2 separate regions of the Homo sapiens genome follow, and region 2 is linked to region 1. The links are contacts of gene promoters, found by promoter capture Hi-C in blood cells and fetal thymus (Javierre and others, 2016). All regions are on one chromosome and are shown on one strand. The core of a region is centred on a gene start or on the middle of the fragment in contact, and the rest is flanking DNA. Distances in the headings are between cores, read along the strand shown.

Region 1 (7,705 bases), core at 1,526-4,025:
AATATGCATGGGAGCCTTGAAAGATATGATACTCAAAGAATGGCCTGATGATTGAAGCTTAAATAGCATTCTGAGCTATAAAAATGTAGTATCTTCTGATGGGGAGTGGGTGACACAAGACATGAGAGAGTGAGGGAAGAAAAAGCATGATAAACAAAAGTCATCTTATTATAATGTCTGTCAGGCATCAGTGCTCCAAAGAACAAGTATTATCAACCTTAGTCTCCCTTTCTGTGAGCTAATATTATTTTTTTCTTTTTTTTTTCTTTTAGACTAAGTTTTGCTCTTGTTGTTCAGGCTAGAGTGCAATGGCGCAATCTTGGCTCACTGCAACCTCTGCCTCCAGGGTTCAGGCGATTCTCCTGCCTCAGCCTCCCGAGTAGCTGGGATTGCAGGCACCTGCCACCACACCCAGCTAATTTTTGTATATTTAGTAGAGACAGGGTTTCATCATGTTGACCAGGCTGGTCTTGAACTTCTGACCTCACGTGATCCACCCACCTCGGCTTTCCAAAGTGCTGGAATTACAGGTATGAGCCACCATGCCTGGCCCTGCTAAGATTCTTTTTCATGAGATTATAGGGAGGGGGCTCAAGACCATTGCTTTTTTTTAGGAGGATCTTCCTTTAGGTATGAGAACTTCAGAGAAAGCCCCTTCCTATATTTTGGGAGAAATAGCAGGGTTGGGAGACAGGAGAACATAAGAGTTAGCTTGGTTCTGAAGACTTTCTGAGACCTTTCAATTTCCTTTGGTTCAAAGTCCTCAACATGCTTAAGTGCCATATTTTGGGGTTTCATTTTTGGAGCCCCAACTTTCCCCTGTCATAAACTTCCCTAGAAAATGTACATACTAAAGCTGAGTTGATGCTTGTGGAGAGGACAATTGAATTGGTAGCTGAGTCGCAAGGAATCACATTAAACCAGTATAAACCAGTCTCACATTCCTAGCAATGTCAATCCAGTTAAACAGCTGTGCCTCATTTCAGGAGGTGATGTTGCAGGTCTGCTGTCATGAAAGATAGGTCTGTATATGGTGCAGTTAAACAGGTACTTAATAAGAGGTCATTCTACCAAAGCAAAAGGAGACCAAAAGTTAATCATTTAGCAGACTAGTTTCTGAGTTCACAGGGCAGCCAGACAAAAAGATTTCTACATGTTGGTTTTGAAACAGCTCCAGTTGGAGTAGAGGTAGGCAATGGTGATCTGACAGATTTTTTTTCTCTCCTATAGCTCCTTAGGGCCAGATCTGAAAGACTTTAAGTTGTTGCAATTTCTCTGGAGTCTGCTCTATCACAAAGAATTCTGCAAAAATCACATTTCCTGCCTTTGTGGACCAAACCAATGTATTTCTTAAATGTATTTGATATCTCATGCCTCCCTAAAAGAATAAAACCAAGCTGCACCCTGACCACCTTGGGTACATGTTCTTAAGACCTCCTGAAGGCTGTGTCATGGGCCATGGTCACTCATATTTGGCCCAGAATAAATCTCTTCAAGTATTGTACAGAGTTTGGCTCTTTTTGTTGGCAGCATGTATTAACTCATTCTCTATTACAATTCCCCTGTCTTGATGAATGGGCTCTGTTGAGGCAGGGGGCAAGGTGAATCTCTTGGGTGGTTACAGTGAAAATCCATACAAAATTTTACATGCATATGTGCTGGAGGCCCACAATATATGAGACTAAAATAAGGACTGAATGAGTAAAGCTTAAATAGCATTGTAAGCTAAAAAGTAGGGAGTGGCTTCTGATAGGGAGTTTCTGACACAAGTTATGGGAAGGTGAAGGGAGAAAACACATGATGAACAAAGGTTATTTTATTGTGGAGATAAAGTCTCTCAGGTAGCAGTGCTCCAAAGAATAAGTATTATCAAACTTTTTCTCTTTTCCTGTGAATTAGTTTTCTGATTGATGAGATTATTTGGAGAGGCTCAAGACAATTGCATTCTTTTTGGAAGATCTTCCCTTAGTCAGATAAGAGAACTTCAGAGCAACCCTGCACTTCAGGAGGGAAAGAATGGGGGATGGGTAGACAGAAGAGGGTCAGAGATTCTGAAGACATTTGTGAAGTCTTTCAGTCTTCTTTAGTTCAAACTACTCAGTATGACAAAGTTTTATTTTTTTTTTTGAGACGGAGTCTTGCTCTGTCACCCAGGCTGGAATGCAGTGGTGCAATCTCCGCTCACTGAAACCTCTGCCTCCTGGGTTCAAGCGATTCTCCTGCCTCAGCCTCCCAAGTAGCTGGGATTACAGGTGTGTGCCACCATGCCTGACTAATTTTTGTATTTTTAGTAGAGAAGGGGTTTCACCATGTTGGTCTGGCTGGTCTTGAACTCCTGACCTTGTGATTGGCCTGCCTCCACCTCCCAAGTGCTGAGATTACAGGTGTGAGCCACCGCACCCAGACTAAATTTTACATTTTCAAATGTTGTATTAGGAGTCCTAACATATTAATAATATTTTATGTGTTCACAGTATTTGGCACTTAGGTAACTTCCCCTCCGTTATCTCTTTTATCTTCAAAACAAATAAGAAAAAGATGGGCCCAATTAGCACTTCAGGTCTTAGAGTTAAGAGCAAACATGCCTGCATAGTTACTCACATATAGAGGAGTACCAGGCTGGTAGCCACAAGAACCCATGTTTCCATGGCAAAGTTTGGAATGAGATCCATCACCAGTTTTCTTTTTCAGCTCTGTCTTCTGAGTTTTTCTTTCAGCTGTGTGCTGCTCTTTGCTGGGCTGTGCATATAGAGCTTTGTTTCTCTGCCCAGAGGTGATTTAGTTAATGTTAACAGCGATATTTATGTGCTGGAGAAGGAGGTGGGTCTACAGCGGCAGCCAGTAGAAAAGCCACTTATGCTACTCCTCATATGGAGGGATTTGGGTACCCTTTTCAAATTGACAATTGGCAAATAATTATGGCTGTCCTTATTTTGGCCTCCTTTGATTTCCTATTCTGTGAACAATCAGTAAACAAATCAGTCACTGCTATTGGTAAGCCCAAAGGTTATAGATTCTCAGGAACCTAAAGAAAAATACTTCTGCAAGAACATCTGCCCAGCAACTGCCTGTCCAACCTCAAACTGATGTCAGTCTTGTTATTGATCTTTATAGCCAAGGATAATCATTCCAAAACAAATATGTAATCCTTCTCATTATTTTTTTAAACTTTGTCTTACTTTACCTACCTGAATAAGCACATAGTTTACCTTGGCACGCATATTCCCATTGCAATGCTTTATTCCCAAATAAAAATAATTCTTTTTAGAAAGCCTATCTCTGTTTGTTATCTAGGTTGCCAAATCATGCCTCCAGGTAAACAGACAAGAAGGACTCCCTGTGCCTCAAAAGCAAAAACAAACCCAAGAGGCCATGGCAGGTTTAGGTGATGGTCATGTTCTCTGTGTTCTTAGTAAGTGTTGCAAAACCTATTTTTCTGTAGCCAAGTCAAATAACATTTTCTGAAAAAATCTGTACCTGGGAATTTTCCAACTGCTCACCAACAGATCATGTGGTAAGAACTAACTGACCACCTAGGAACAGCCAATTAAGAGACATGTGACTTGGGGCTTAAAGGCTGTCTAATCAAGACTCTTTTCTTCACTCCTCTGACTCCTCTATCCTGCTCTGTGGTTTTTGACTTTATAGCTCTCCACCTCCGAGGCTGCATCTCCTCAATCTGCAGACTGTGTTTTATAGAAAATGAAGCTCTCCCTCTGTCCTCCACAGATCCCACAATCTTTACTCATATTTCCTGGTGATGAGGAAGGGATCAAAATTGGCTCTCAAGATCCTCTCCCTTGTCATCTGGACTAATCAATGCATTGGCACCAGCAAGAGTCCTCTAAGCTCAGTTATCTTCCTGGCCTGGCTGTTTTGTGGAAAAATCAGTAAATCCTCTTACATCCAAGATCTCACATTTAGGATGAGGTCTTGAGGTCTTTATTTTTTTCAGGGAACCTGCCCTTCTGGCTCTATGGCTACCCACTTGTGGGGTATGCTTGCACTTGGAGGGGCATGCCCATGTTTCTTGGGGTGCATTCATGCTGCATCAAGCAAGTTCATGCCTCACAGGATACTCCATGCTTCAGTGTTGCAAGGACTATCGCATTTTATTTGCCCTTGAAGGGACCCCTTCCTAAGGTGAGGGCTATGCATAACCTAGGTCCTAAGGCCATGGTCTCTAAGGCCTGCCATCGGGTAATTCGGTGGCTCTGTCTCTGATCAATCACTATCAGGTACTCTGGCAGTTTTTCAAGTTTAAAATTTAAAGGTAAAGGCTCGACAGAAATGGATGTGAGAGATACACCTAAATTGAACTCCGAAGCATGCAATGAGGATAAGAGGAGTCTGGACTTCTCAAAGACAGTAAGAGGCTTTCTTTCAATCTGCATTTTTGAAAGTTTCAAACACAATTGGGACTTTGGCTGTGTTTTACTAGGAGACTAACCTGAAGAGTTAACCCATGTCTCAGAAAATCTGAAAAACTTGAAGACCCTAAAATGGAGAGTCCCATATCTTCCTGCTGCTGCACTTGCATTCTACCTCCACTTTTCCCTTTTTACCATCACTGTCTTTGTCTGGAACATTGCAGGGACCTGGCAACTTGGTACCAGCAGGGGCCATTGAGCCCCTGGCTCCTTCATGATGATTGAAAACTGGGTGGGTCTCTCATGAGTTTTGGACTTCCCACTTGATTGACAGCTGTCAGTTTTGTTCAGCTAGTTGTTCTTACCCCTGGATAAAAGGGGGTGAAAGAAAGTCTCTTTCTTTGAGACTTACTGTTTCTCAAGAAGGGGGAATCACTCTGTATTTCTCCTCCATAAACATATGAATGAATATGTATGCTATTTCTCCCATTAATCTCCTTTGTGGGTGATTTTTTTTGTTGTTAACAAACCTTCAGAGGAGAAAGGACAAACATTTTTCTTGGCCTCAGCAGTTCTGTCCCTATGAGCAGGATACCAAAGCCACTCTGTTCTTTCAGAAGCCTCAGTGAAGGGAGCCCAAGCACTTGTAAGTCAGCAGAAAAGTAAGAATTTCTTTTTTTTTCTTTTTCTTTTTTTGACAGAGTCTCATTTTATTACCCAGGCTGGAATGTAGTGGTGTGATCTTGGCTCACTGCAATCTCCGCCTCCTGGGCTCAAGTGATCCTTCTATCTCAGTCTCCCAAGTAGCTGGGACTACAGGCACATGCCTCCATGTCTGGCTGAGAAAAGTAAGAATTTCTTTCCAGACAAGCTCCTGGCCTTTCTTTCTGGGAGATCCACTTGGGCAGATGTTAAGAATTGCTCTTTGTCTCCTCTGCAAAATCTTAATAAATAGGAGAAAAGGATTTGTGTTACTAGTGCTGGGTGCAGCAACTCTAGGGTACTCTCTAGTACTTTCTCTTATGAATACTCACATCGTTTGATCCCCTTTTCCTCTAGAAATAGTCTTTTCCTTTGTTCCTGTATTTCTGTGCTGTTCTGTCATAAAAGGGGCTACAGGAGTGTAGAACATGGGCCTGAAACCCCTATAAGCCCACTTGTTGGAGCTGGCTCTGCGGACTGAGCAGCTGGTGCTTCTGAAGAACACACCTGTTGTTCTACACATGTCCAGCTCTCGGGGGAGTTTCTCTTAAGAAGCCCCATCCCTATGGGTCTTTTGCTTCCCTAACCCTTGTGACTTGGTTAGTCCTGGGAAAGTCCAATCCCCGGAGAACCTACCCAGTGTCACATATCAACAGGCCTGAACTTACTGGTTTTGGTGTCACTCAAAAGGGTACCTTCAGTTTTAAAAAATCAAAGCCTAAAATGTTTATAAAGGATAGATCCTCAGGTAAAATAGACTGACTTCTTTTTCAGAATTATTCATAGTACAGCCAAACATTAAAATGCTTTCTTTGGCTAGGTAAGGAGGCTCACGCCTGTAATCCCAGCACTTTGGGAGGCTGAGGCAGGTGACTCACTTGAGGCCGGGAGTTCAATATCAGCCTGGCCAACATGATGAAACCCCATGTCTATTAAAAATACAAACATTAGCTGGGCATGGTAGCGCATGCCTGTAATACCAGCTACTGGGGTGGCTGAGGTGATCCAGAGGATCACCTGAGCCCGAGAGGCAGAGGTTGCAGTGAGCTGACATCACACCACTGCACTCCAGCCTGGGAGACAGAGATAGACTGTTTCAAAAAAGAGGGAAAAAAAGCTTTCATCACTCTATTTAAGAGCTCCATCCTGAATTCAGTAATCTAATCAAGAAATTTCCATAAAAAGATAAGAAAATTATGGAGAAGACATCACAATAATGTTATAGGATCCTTGAGGTGTTGCTTTTATGGCCTAAAACCTCTGGCCAGTGGCACCTTTGCCCAAGTTTTGCTCGGACTTGCTGGGCTTCTTCCACCCACTTGGGTTGGCAAGCTGCACACAGTCCACACTACCAGCCTGGATCCCATGCCTGCCAAGGGTGAGTTAGGAATGGAGCCATGAGGGGTGTGTGAATGAATGTGGGGTCAGGCCACTGCACAGTCAGACACTACAGCCGCTGCAGTGACAGGCAGCTCCAGGTGCCGGCACAGGCACTGGCTCTCTGTGAGGCTGTGGCTGGACCAGGTGCACTGCAAGCAGTTTCCCCAGCCAGCACTGGGGAATGCAGTGGTTACTGCAAACTTGGAGACACCAGGCACTGCAGGATACCAAAGAGTCACAACCCTGTTTTGGGGAGCTTCCAGGTCTGGGCTCCCTGAAGGACTGTGGCTCTTCTCTCCTTCTCTTTGCCTGCAACGTGGTGAGCAAGGGGCATGTTTCAGCCCTGTTTATGTTATAGCTGTTTTACCTCTGCCATTCAGTGGGTCCTGAGTTCTTGTCCTTCGACCAGGAAGAATGAGGTATGCAGACAGGTGGAGGGAAAGCAAGATGAAGAGGAGCATTATTGAGCAATAGAACAGCTCACAGGAGACCCACAAAGGGTAGCTACTTTCCACAGTCAGGGTGTCCCGATCAGTGTTCAGCTCCTGGCAGAGAAGACACCCTGGGTTGGGAGGCTCCTCTCTTCAGGTAGGTCATCCTGTCATCTCTGCAGCTCTCAGCAGAGAGGGGGTTTTGGAGTGGGTTGCTCCTCTCTGCAGCTGGTAGTCTGCATGTCTCTGCGGGTCTCTGAGGCTCTCAGCAGAGAGGAGGCCCTAGAGTGGGTAGCCCCTCTCTGCTGCTGGTTGTCTAAATGTCTCTTGCTATCAGCAGAGAGGGTAGCTCATTTCTGCAGCTGGTCCACCTGATGTCTGCTCAGCTCTAGCAGAGCCTGGGGCTTTTATGGGCCCTAGAGGGGAGGAAGTGTGCACTGATCGGTCCTTGGGCAGCCATGGAAGGGCTGGAAAAAGAATCACAACTTCCCAGTCTGGTCAATGGGATTGGCAGCCCAGCCACCAGCCTTCAGGCCCTCCCTGACCTGAAGGTGGGGCCTCACTGGGGACCCACCTACTTCTACCTGGGAATCTGTCTGCCTCCTGCTTCCATTCTTGGCACCAGGGCTCAGCCTCACTTTGCTATGAGATTGGAGAGGGTGCTGACAGCAGGGAGAAGCCAGGGAGCAGGAGCAGGCACTTTGGAGCCTGTGAGGGTAGGGGGGCCTTCCTGGGCCCCCAAGAGTGCAGGGATGCCTGAGTCTGCAGCTGGTGGGTGGCTGCAGCTGTGCAGGGTAGGGGGGATGGGGGTGAGGAAAGGTG
Region 2 (7,705 bases), core at 2,092-4,591, 49 kb before region 1:
ATACTTAAATAAAAGGGAAGTGTGTGGAGATCTCTAATGGGTTGGAGTGATCAGGAGGAGCATGGGAGAAGTTGAGCTTCTAGTCCACCAGAAGCTGAGTGTGAAATAACAGTGTGAAGTGACAGCCAGAAAGATGAGACTGTAGACTGCATTAGGAGAGAGACAGTAATAGATGTGACTTTTTTTTTTTTTTTTGAGACAGAATTTTGCTCTTGTTGCTCAAGGTGGAGTGCAATGGTGTGATCTCGGCTCACTGCATCATCTGCCTCCTGGGTTCTAGCGATTCTCCTGCCTCAGCCTCTGGAGTAGCTGGGATTACAGGCATGCGCCACCACGCCCGGCTAATTTTGTATTTTCAGTAGAGACGGGGTTTCTACATGTTGGTCAGGCTGGTCTCGAACTCCTGACCTCAGGTGATCCACTTGTCGTGGCCTCCCAAAGTGCCAGGATTACAGGCATGAGCGACCGCGCCCGGCCAGATGTGACCTCTTTCTTACTGATCAAATGCTTGGGAGAATGCATTCAGTTCTGAGTTCTTTGCTTTAAGAAGTAAATAGATAATCGTCACCGCATGAAGGTCTAGAAAGACATTTAGGAGAAAAAACACAAAAAAGAATAGGGTGGATATTTGAGGAATCAATTAAGATTACTTTTTTTTTTTGAGACAGAGTCTTGCCCTGTCGCCCAGGCTAGAGTGCAGTGGCACAATCTTGGCTCACTGCAAACTCCACCTCCCGGGTTCAAGGGATTCTAATGCCTCAGCCCCTCGAGTAGCTGCAATTACAGGTATGTGCCACCAAGCCTGGCTAATTTTTGTATTTTTAGTAGAGACAGGGTTTCACTATGTTGGCCAGGCTGGTCTCAAAGTCCTGACCTCAGGTGATCTGCCTGCCTTGGCCTCCCAAAGTGCTGGGATTACAGACCTGAGCCACTGTCCCCTGCCTGAAATTAACAATTATTAATACATCTTATGTTAGATACGGGGGATGACAGAGGAGAAGAAAACAAATATTCAGTACACATACACACACACACAGAATAAATGCCCATAACTATTACAGTTTTTGTTTCTGTAGCTGCTCACATGGTTTTTGGCTGGTATTTATAACGACTTGCTTTCACTACCCATTCCAATTCTCTTTGTCTACAGTTATTCATGACTCTTTGCCTGGTGGGGTAACCCAAACCTTTATTCCTGAAGCATCTGGGCCACTAGCAGTCTTGTCTGAATTGGGTTGTAGTTTTCTATTGGCTTACATCATGAGACATGAGAGTACACCCTAGAAAATCTGACTGCAGACATAATTCTCCATATCCTCACTGTATAGTAGTGACTGAATTTCCCATTGCTAGTCAGAATCAGTCTTACTAGCCAATAGAGTAACCTTATTTGCCTATTGATTCAGTTCTATGAGGAGCCCCAAGTGGCATGGTGGCAGTCTTAACTATCAGAAAATGGGATTATTGTTGTGACACCTGGTAGAAGAATTTCTCCCTTTGGAACTAAGACCTCTAAAACAGCAAAAGCTAAAAGTGAAGGGATAGAAAACTAAAATTGTGCTGGTGGGTCACAGTTATGGGGGCTATAGTGAGAGGACTCATTCTCTCTTCTACCTGGTGATTTCTGGTTCCATGAATCTTGCTATGGGAGGAAGAGCAGCATAAATTGGATGCAGATTTAGAGTATATTTCACATCCTAGAGGACACTGCCCCAGCACCAAAACGTGTTGCCAACCAGATGGTCTTCAAAAGGCCTTCCCTTGGATTCTCCTTTAGTTTTTCTGACTTCTGGGTCAGGTGTGTGCATTCTTTTTTTTTTTTATTTTTTTTTTTTTATTTTTTTTTTTAAGACGGAGTCTCGCTCTGTTGCCCAGGCTGGAGTGCAGTGATGCGATCTCCACTCACTGCAAGCTCCGCTTCCTGGGTTCACACCATTCTCTTGCCTCAGCCTCCCGAGTAGCTGGGACTACAGGCGCCCGCCACCACGCCCGGCAAATTTTTTGTATTTTTAGTAGAGACGGGGTTTCACCGTGTTAGCCAGGATGGTCTCCATCTCCTGACCTCGTGATCCACCTGCCTCGGCCTCCCAAAGTGCTGGGATTACAGGCGTGAGCCGCCGCGCCCGGCCAGGTGTGTGCATTTTTAATCTGGCCATTAAGAAGCGCCCCAGCGGCCGGGTGCGGTGGTTCACGCCTGTAATCCCAGCACTTTGGGAGGCCGAGGCGGGGGGATCACGAGGTCAGGAGATGGAGACCATCCTGTCGAACACGGTGAAATCCCCGTCTCTACTAAAAATACAAAAAATTAGCCGGGTGTGGTGGCAGGCGCCTGTAGTCCCAGCTACTACGGAGGCTGAGGCAAGAGAATGGCATGAACCCGGGAGGCGGAGCTTGCAGTGAGACGAGATCGGGCCACAGCATTCCAGCCTGGGCGACAGAGCAAGACTCCAACTCAAAAAAAAAAAAAAAAAAAAAAAGAGGCGCCCCAGCTTCTGCAGGATATCCACACCGCCAATTTCAGAGACAACAAGAACTGACATGGGTTTCAGTCTGCCTTTGTGGGATTGCAGCTCATGCTTGTGGGTTCCAGCATGACTTTGATCTGCCACTCTTTATATCCATTTTTTTTTTCCTGACTACTTGCCCTCTGGAATTAAAGTTCCAGCATCAGACACAAAGGTAACAGCCACGCATAGATTGCCTAACCAGCTTCCACAATTGTATAAGAGAAATCTCTTAGTGTTATAGCTTTTCTAGTAAAATCCTCACTGATAAAATAAGCAACGCCCCCAAGCTTTTCTCCAAACTGTCTCTCTGTGTGTGTCTGTATAGAGAGAGAGAGCTTAAAAATCTGCCTTCACAAACATGATCACTCTGAAATCTCAGAATATCTAGACTCCATTAAGTATCAAACTTCAAGTCTCTTCTCATTAAGAAAGACAAATGTGTGTGTGTGTGTGTGTGTGTATACATATGTGTGTTTTGGAAGCCTAGGAAGTAAATGGGGAATAAATATATACACACATACATATACATACACACACACACACACACACATATATATCTTTCTTAACGAGAAGAGACTTGAAGTTTGATAATAGAGTCCAGATATTCTGAAATTTCAGAGTGATTATGTTTGTGAAGGCAGATTTCTAAGCTCTCTTTTAAAAAAAGGTTATTTGAATAATTAGAGAGGTTGAATAATTAGAAACGGAAATTTTTTTCACAGGTTCTGTCCTCTATCAAAAGGTGCTTTTCCTTGGGTATACTGGACCCCAGTATTTCCAGTCACACTCTTTATCTCCACTCTCTGTTTCCTCAGGGATTGAGAAAGGGGACAATGTGGCAGAAGAATCAGACCTCTCTGGCAGACTTCATCCTTGAGGGGCTCTTCGATGACTCCCTTACCCACCTTTTCCTTTTCTCCTTGACCATGGTGGTCTTCCTTATTGCGGTGAGTGGCAACACCCTCACCATTCTCCTCATCTGCATTGATCCCCAGCTTCATACACCAATGTATTTCCTGCTCAGCCAGCTCTCCCTCATGGATCTGATGCATGTCTCCACAATCATCCTGAAGATGGCTACCAACTACCTATCTGGCAAGAAATCTATCTCCTTTGTGGGCTGTGCAACCCAGCACTTCCTCTATTTGTGTCTAGGTGGTGCTGAATGTTTTCTCTTAGCTGTCATGTCCTATGACCGCTATGTTGCCATCTGTCATCCACTGCGCTATGCTGTGCTCATGAACAAGAAGGTGGGACTGATGATGGCTGTCATGTCATGGTTGGGGGCATCCGTGAACTCCCTAATTCACATGGCGATCTTGATGCACTTCCCTTTCTGTGGGCCTCGGAAAGTCTACCACTTCTACTGTGAGTTCCCAGCTGTTGTGAAGTTGGTATGTGGCGACATCACTGTGTATGAGACCACAGTGTACATCAGCAGCATTCTCCTCCTCCTCCCCATCTTCCTGATTTCTACATCCTATGTCTTCATCCTTCAAAGTGTCATTCAGATGCGCTCATCTGGGAGCAAGAGAAATGCCTTTGCCACTTGTGGCTCCCACCTCACGGTGGTTTCTCTTTGGTTTGGTGCCTGCATCTTCTCCTACATGAGACCCAGGTCCCAGTGCACTCTATTGCAGAACAAAGTTGGTTCTGTGTTCTACAGCATCATTACGCCCACATTGAATTCTCTGATTTATACTCTCCGGAATAAAGATGTAGCTAAGGCTCTGAGAAGAGTGCTGAGGAGAGATGTTATCACCCAGTGCATTCAACGACTGCAATTGTGGTTGCCCCGAGTGTAGAGTGGAATAGGATAAGCTCCTTAAATTAATTCATATAAACCTCTAAAGTTTTTCAGGGAGATAGCTTCCTTATGCTGTTTTACTACTGGAAGAAAAACACATTTAACACACAATTCCAGTATTCCAGCTTGGTGTCAGGTATCCAAGCACTGTGGAGAACATTTGAGTAGATCTTTAGAGAATTAGGGAAAACTTTTTAAAAAGTCCCTTTGAAAGAAGACATATAAAGGTCACTGACACCCTGAAAAAAAGAAGGCAAGATAAAGATATAAGGGCCCTTATCTATTATTATTTTTATTAACAAAAATATATAAAACATGCCACCAGAGAGTATTTATGGAGTTTAAAATTGGAGTGTGTTGCTTACTTTTGGAAGCATGGGAAGTAAATGGTGAATGATGGCTGTTTGAAAGGGAGGATGCATGATATAAAAGTTGTATTCTTTTTTTTTTTTGTGACGGAGTCTCTCTCTGTCACCTAGGCTGGAGTGCAGTGGCACGATCTTGGCTCACTGCAACCTCCGCCTCCCAGGTTCAAGTGATTCTCCTGCCTCAGCCAGGAGTAGCTGAGTATTACAGAGTAGCTGGGATTACAGGCGCGTGCCACCATGCCTGGCTAATTTTTGTATTTTTAGTAGAGACGGGGTTTCACCATGTTGGTCAGGCTGGTCTTCAACCCCTGACCTCAGGTGATCTGCCCACCTTGGCCTCCCAAAGTTCTGAGATTACAGACGTGAGCTACTGCACCTGGCCCTAAAAGTTATATTCTTAGACCCTTAGTGTTCCATGAATCACAGTGTGTAAGAATTCATAAGGGAAAGAATAATACATTTTGTATACATACATAATAATATATAACATAATTCTTGTAATCCATGTTGTGTTTAACAAATCTTTGTTGAGTGCCTAGTATGATCCAGGTGGTAGACTAGATGTTTGGAATTGCATTGTGAAACTTAAGATTTTTTACACATCTGCTTGTGCTTTTCCTTGGTCTACGTTGGACTTGCCATAGCAGGTAGGCATATTAACTTTTATTATTTCACAGGCTGAAAATACCTTTCTGTTCTTTGAGGGTTCCTAGCCTTGTGATTTGGAATCAGAATGATCTGGAGGAGAGTCTGCCACTTGATAACAGTGGTAAGTTACTTAACCTCTCAAGGCCTCAGTAATCTTATGTGTTTAATGAAAAAAAAAATAGGGTGACCTGAGATTTTGTGTTAGTTATGGGTATTGGTTCCAAGCAACAGAAATGGACTCTGAATGAAACAAGCAGAAAAAAGCCTTATTGAAGGCATGATGGGAAGATGTCAGAATCAGTGGGAGCACTAAAGAACCAGATTTGGAGACTATTACTCACATATCCATTTACTGCCAAATTGTCCACAGAATAAGTCCAAGAAGAGGCCAGTAGTAGAATTCATCCAATGGAGACAAGATTATTTGGGTTTAGCAATATGGGGGAGGACTAACACAGGTCATCATAACCATCTGATCTGCAAGGATCTCTTATAATCTTGCTCTTGAAATTATTCTTCTCTCTTCTGCGTTATAAATTTTCCCAGTCTACTTGATCAGTACCTCAGCCTACAGACATACCTTTATGATTGTCATCTTAAAAAGAAACTTCTCCTCAATCCCGGAAAGTCTAAACCAAGCTCATTCAACCCATGTACTGCAGACCATATGTGGCCTGGGAAGGCTTTGAATGTGGCCCAACACAAATTCATAAACTTTCTTAAAACATTTTCATCATCACTGGCCATCAGAGAAATGCAAATCAAAACCACATTGAGATACCATCTCACACCAGTTAGAATGGCGATCATTAAAAAGTCAGGAAACCACAGGTGCTGGAGAGGATGTGGAGAAATAGGAATACTTTTATGCTGTTGGTGGGACTGTAAACTAGTTCAACCATTGTGGAAGTCAGTGTGGCGATTCCTCAGGGATCTAGAACTAGAAATACCATTTGACCCAGCCATCCCATTACTGGGTATATACCCAAAGGATTATAAATCATGCTGCTGTAAAGACACGTGCACACGTATGTTTATTGCAGCACTATTCACAATAGCAAAGACTTGGAACCAACCCAAATGTCCAACAATGATAGACTGGATTAAGAAAATGTGGCCCATATACACAGAATACAATGCAGCCATAAAAAATGATGAGTTCATGTCCTTTGTAGGGACTTGGATGAAGCTGGAAACCATCATTCTCAGCAAACTATTGTAAGGACAGAAAACCAAACACCGCATGTTCTCACTCATAGGTGGGAATTGAACAGTGAGAACACCTGGACACAGGAAGGGGAACATCACACACCAGGGCCTGTTGTGGGGTGGGGGGAGAGGGGAGGAATAGCTTTAGGAGATATACCTAATGTAAATGACGAGTTAATGGGTGCAGCACACCAACATGGCACATGTATACATATGTAACAAACCTGCACGTTGTGCACATGTACCCTAGAACTTAAAGTATAAAAAAAATTATGAGATTTTAACTTTTATTTATTTATTTTTTAGCTCATCAGCTGTCATTAGTTTTAGTGTATTTTATGTGTGGCCCAAGACAATTCTTCTTCCAGTGCGGCCTGGGGAAGCCAAAAGATTGGACGTCCACCCATGGTCTAAACAGTCTTACAGAAGAATTCCTTGAAACAGTTTTCTTTTTTTTTTTTGAGATGGAGTCTTGCTCTGTTGCCCAGGCTGGAGTGCAGTGATGCGATCTCCACTCACTGCAAGCTACGCCTCCTGGGTTCATGCTATTCTCCTGCCTCAGCCTCCCGATTAGCTGGGACTACAGGCACCCGCCACCATGCCTGGCTAATTTTTTGTATTTTTAGTACAGACAGGGTTTCACCATGTTAGCCAGGATGGTCTCGATCTCCTGACCTCGTGATCCGCCCGCCTCGGCCTCCCAAAGTGCTGGGATTACAGGCGTGAGCCTCCGTGCCCGGCCGAAACAGTTTTCTTTACTTGTTATTTCCACTTTTTCTGCTTCCATTTTCTCCTGAGCTCACTTCAGTTGGCTTTTGTCATCATCAATCTATGGAAACCATTAGTATGATTGTCACAAATGGCCTCCTTGTGGCCACATTTAATGGCCAATTTTCACTTGCTCTTAGCCAAAAGGCCAAGAAGCGATCAATGACCAATTTTCAATGTACCCAACAGCCTTTGACAAAGTTGATTATGCCTTCCTTTTTTGAAACACTTTCTTCACTGAACGCTACACTCACTTTAACTCCTACTTCATTGAGTCTTCATTTTCCATTTCCTTTGCATTTAAATTCTTTCATGTTACTTCCTTGTTCTCATGCTCTTCTACAGCAGCGATTCTCAAACATGAGTACACATTAGAATCATCTGAAGGTCATGTTAAA

Evidence for each region. Contacts are between HindIII fragments. The CHiCAGO score rates a contact against its expected background, and 5 or more counts as called.
Region 2: the fragment with the promoter of OR2AE1 here is called in contact with the fragment with the promoter of CYP3A43 in region 1 in 6 of 17 cell types (neutrophils, M1 macrophages, total B cells and 3 more); the score reaches 7.1 in neutrophils.

Annotation. Positions count from the first base shown.
Region 1 is chr7:99,823,083-99,830,787 of GRCh38, reverse strand. It overlaps CYP3A43 (cytochrome P450 family 3 subfamily A member 43), which reads right to left and starts at 2,775. Exons shown (of 13, transcript NM_057095.3): 1 at 2,602-2,775. The coding sequence starts at 2,672. The HindIII fragment of the contact is 4,482 bases long and covers 1,710-6,191 here.
Region 2 is chr7:99,872,669-99,880,373 of GRCh38, reverse strand. OR2AE1 (olfactory receptor family 2 subfamily AE member 1) reads left to right here and starts at 3,341. Exons shown (of 1, transcript NM_001005276.1): 1 at 3,341-4,312. The coding sequence starts at 3,341. The coding sequence ends at 4,312. The HindIII fragment of the contact is 12,247 bases long and covers 2,797-7,705 here.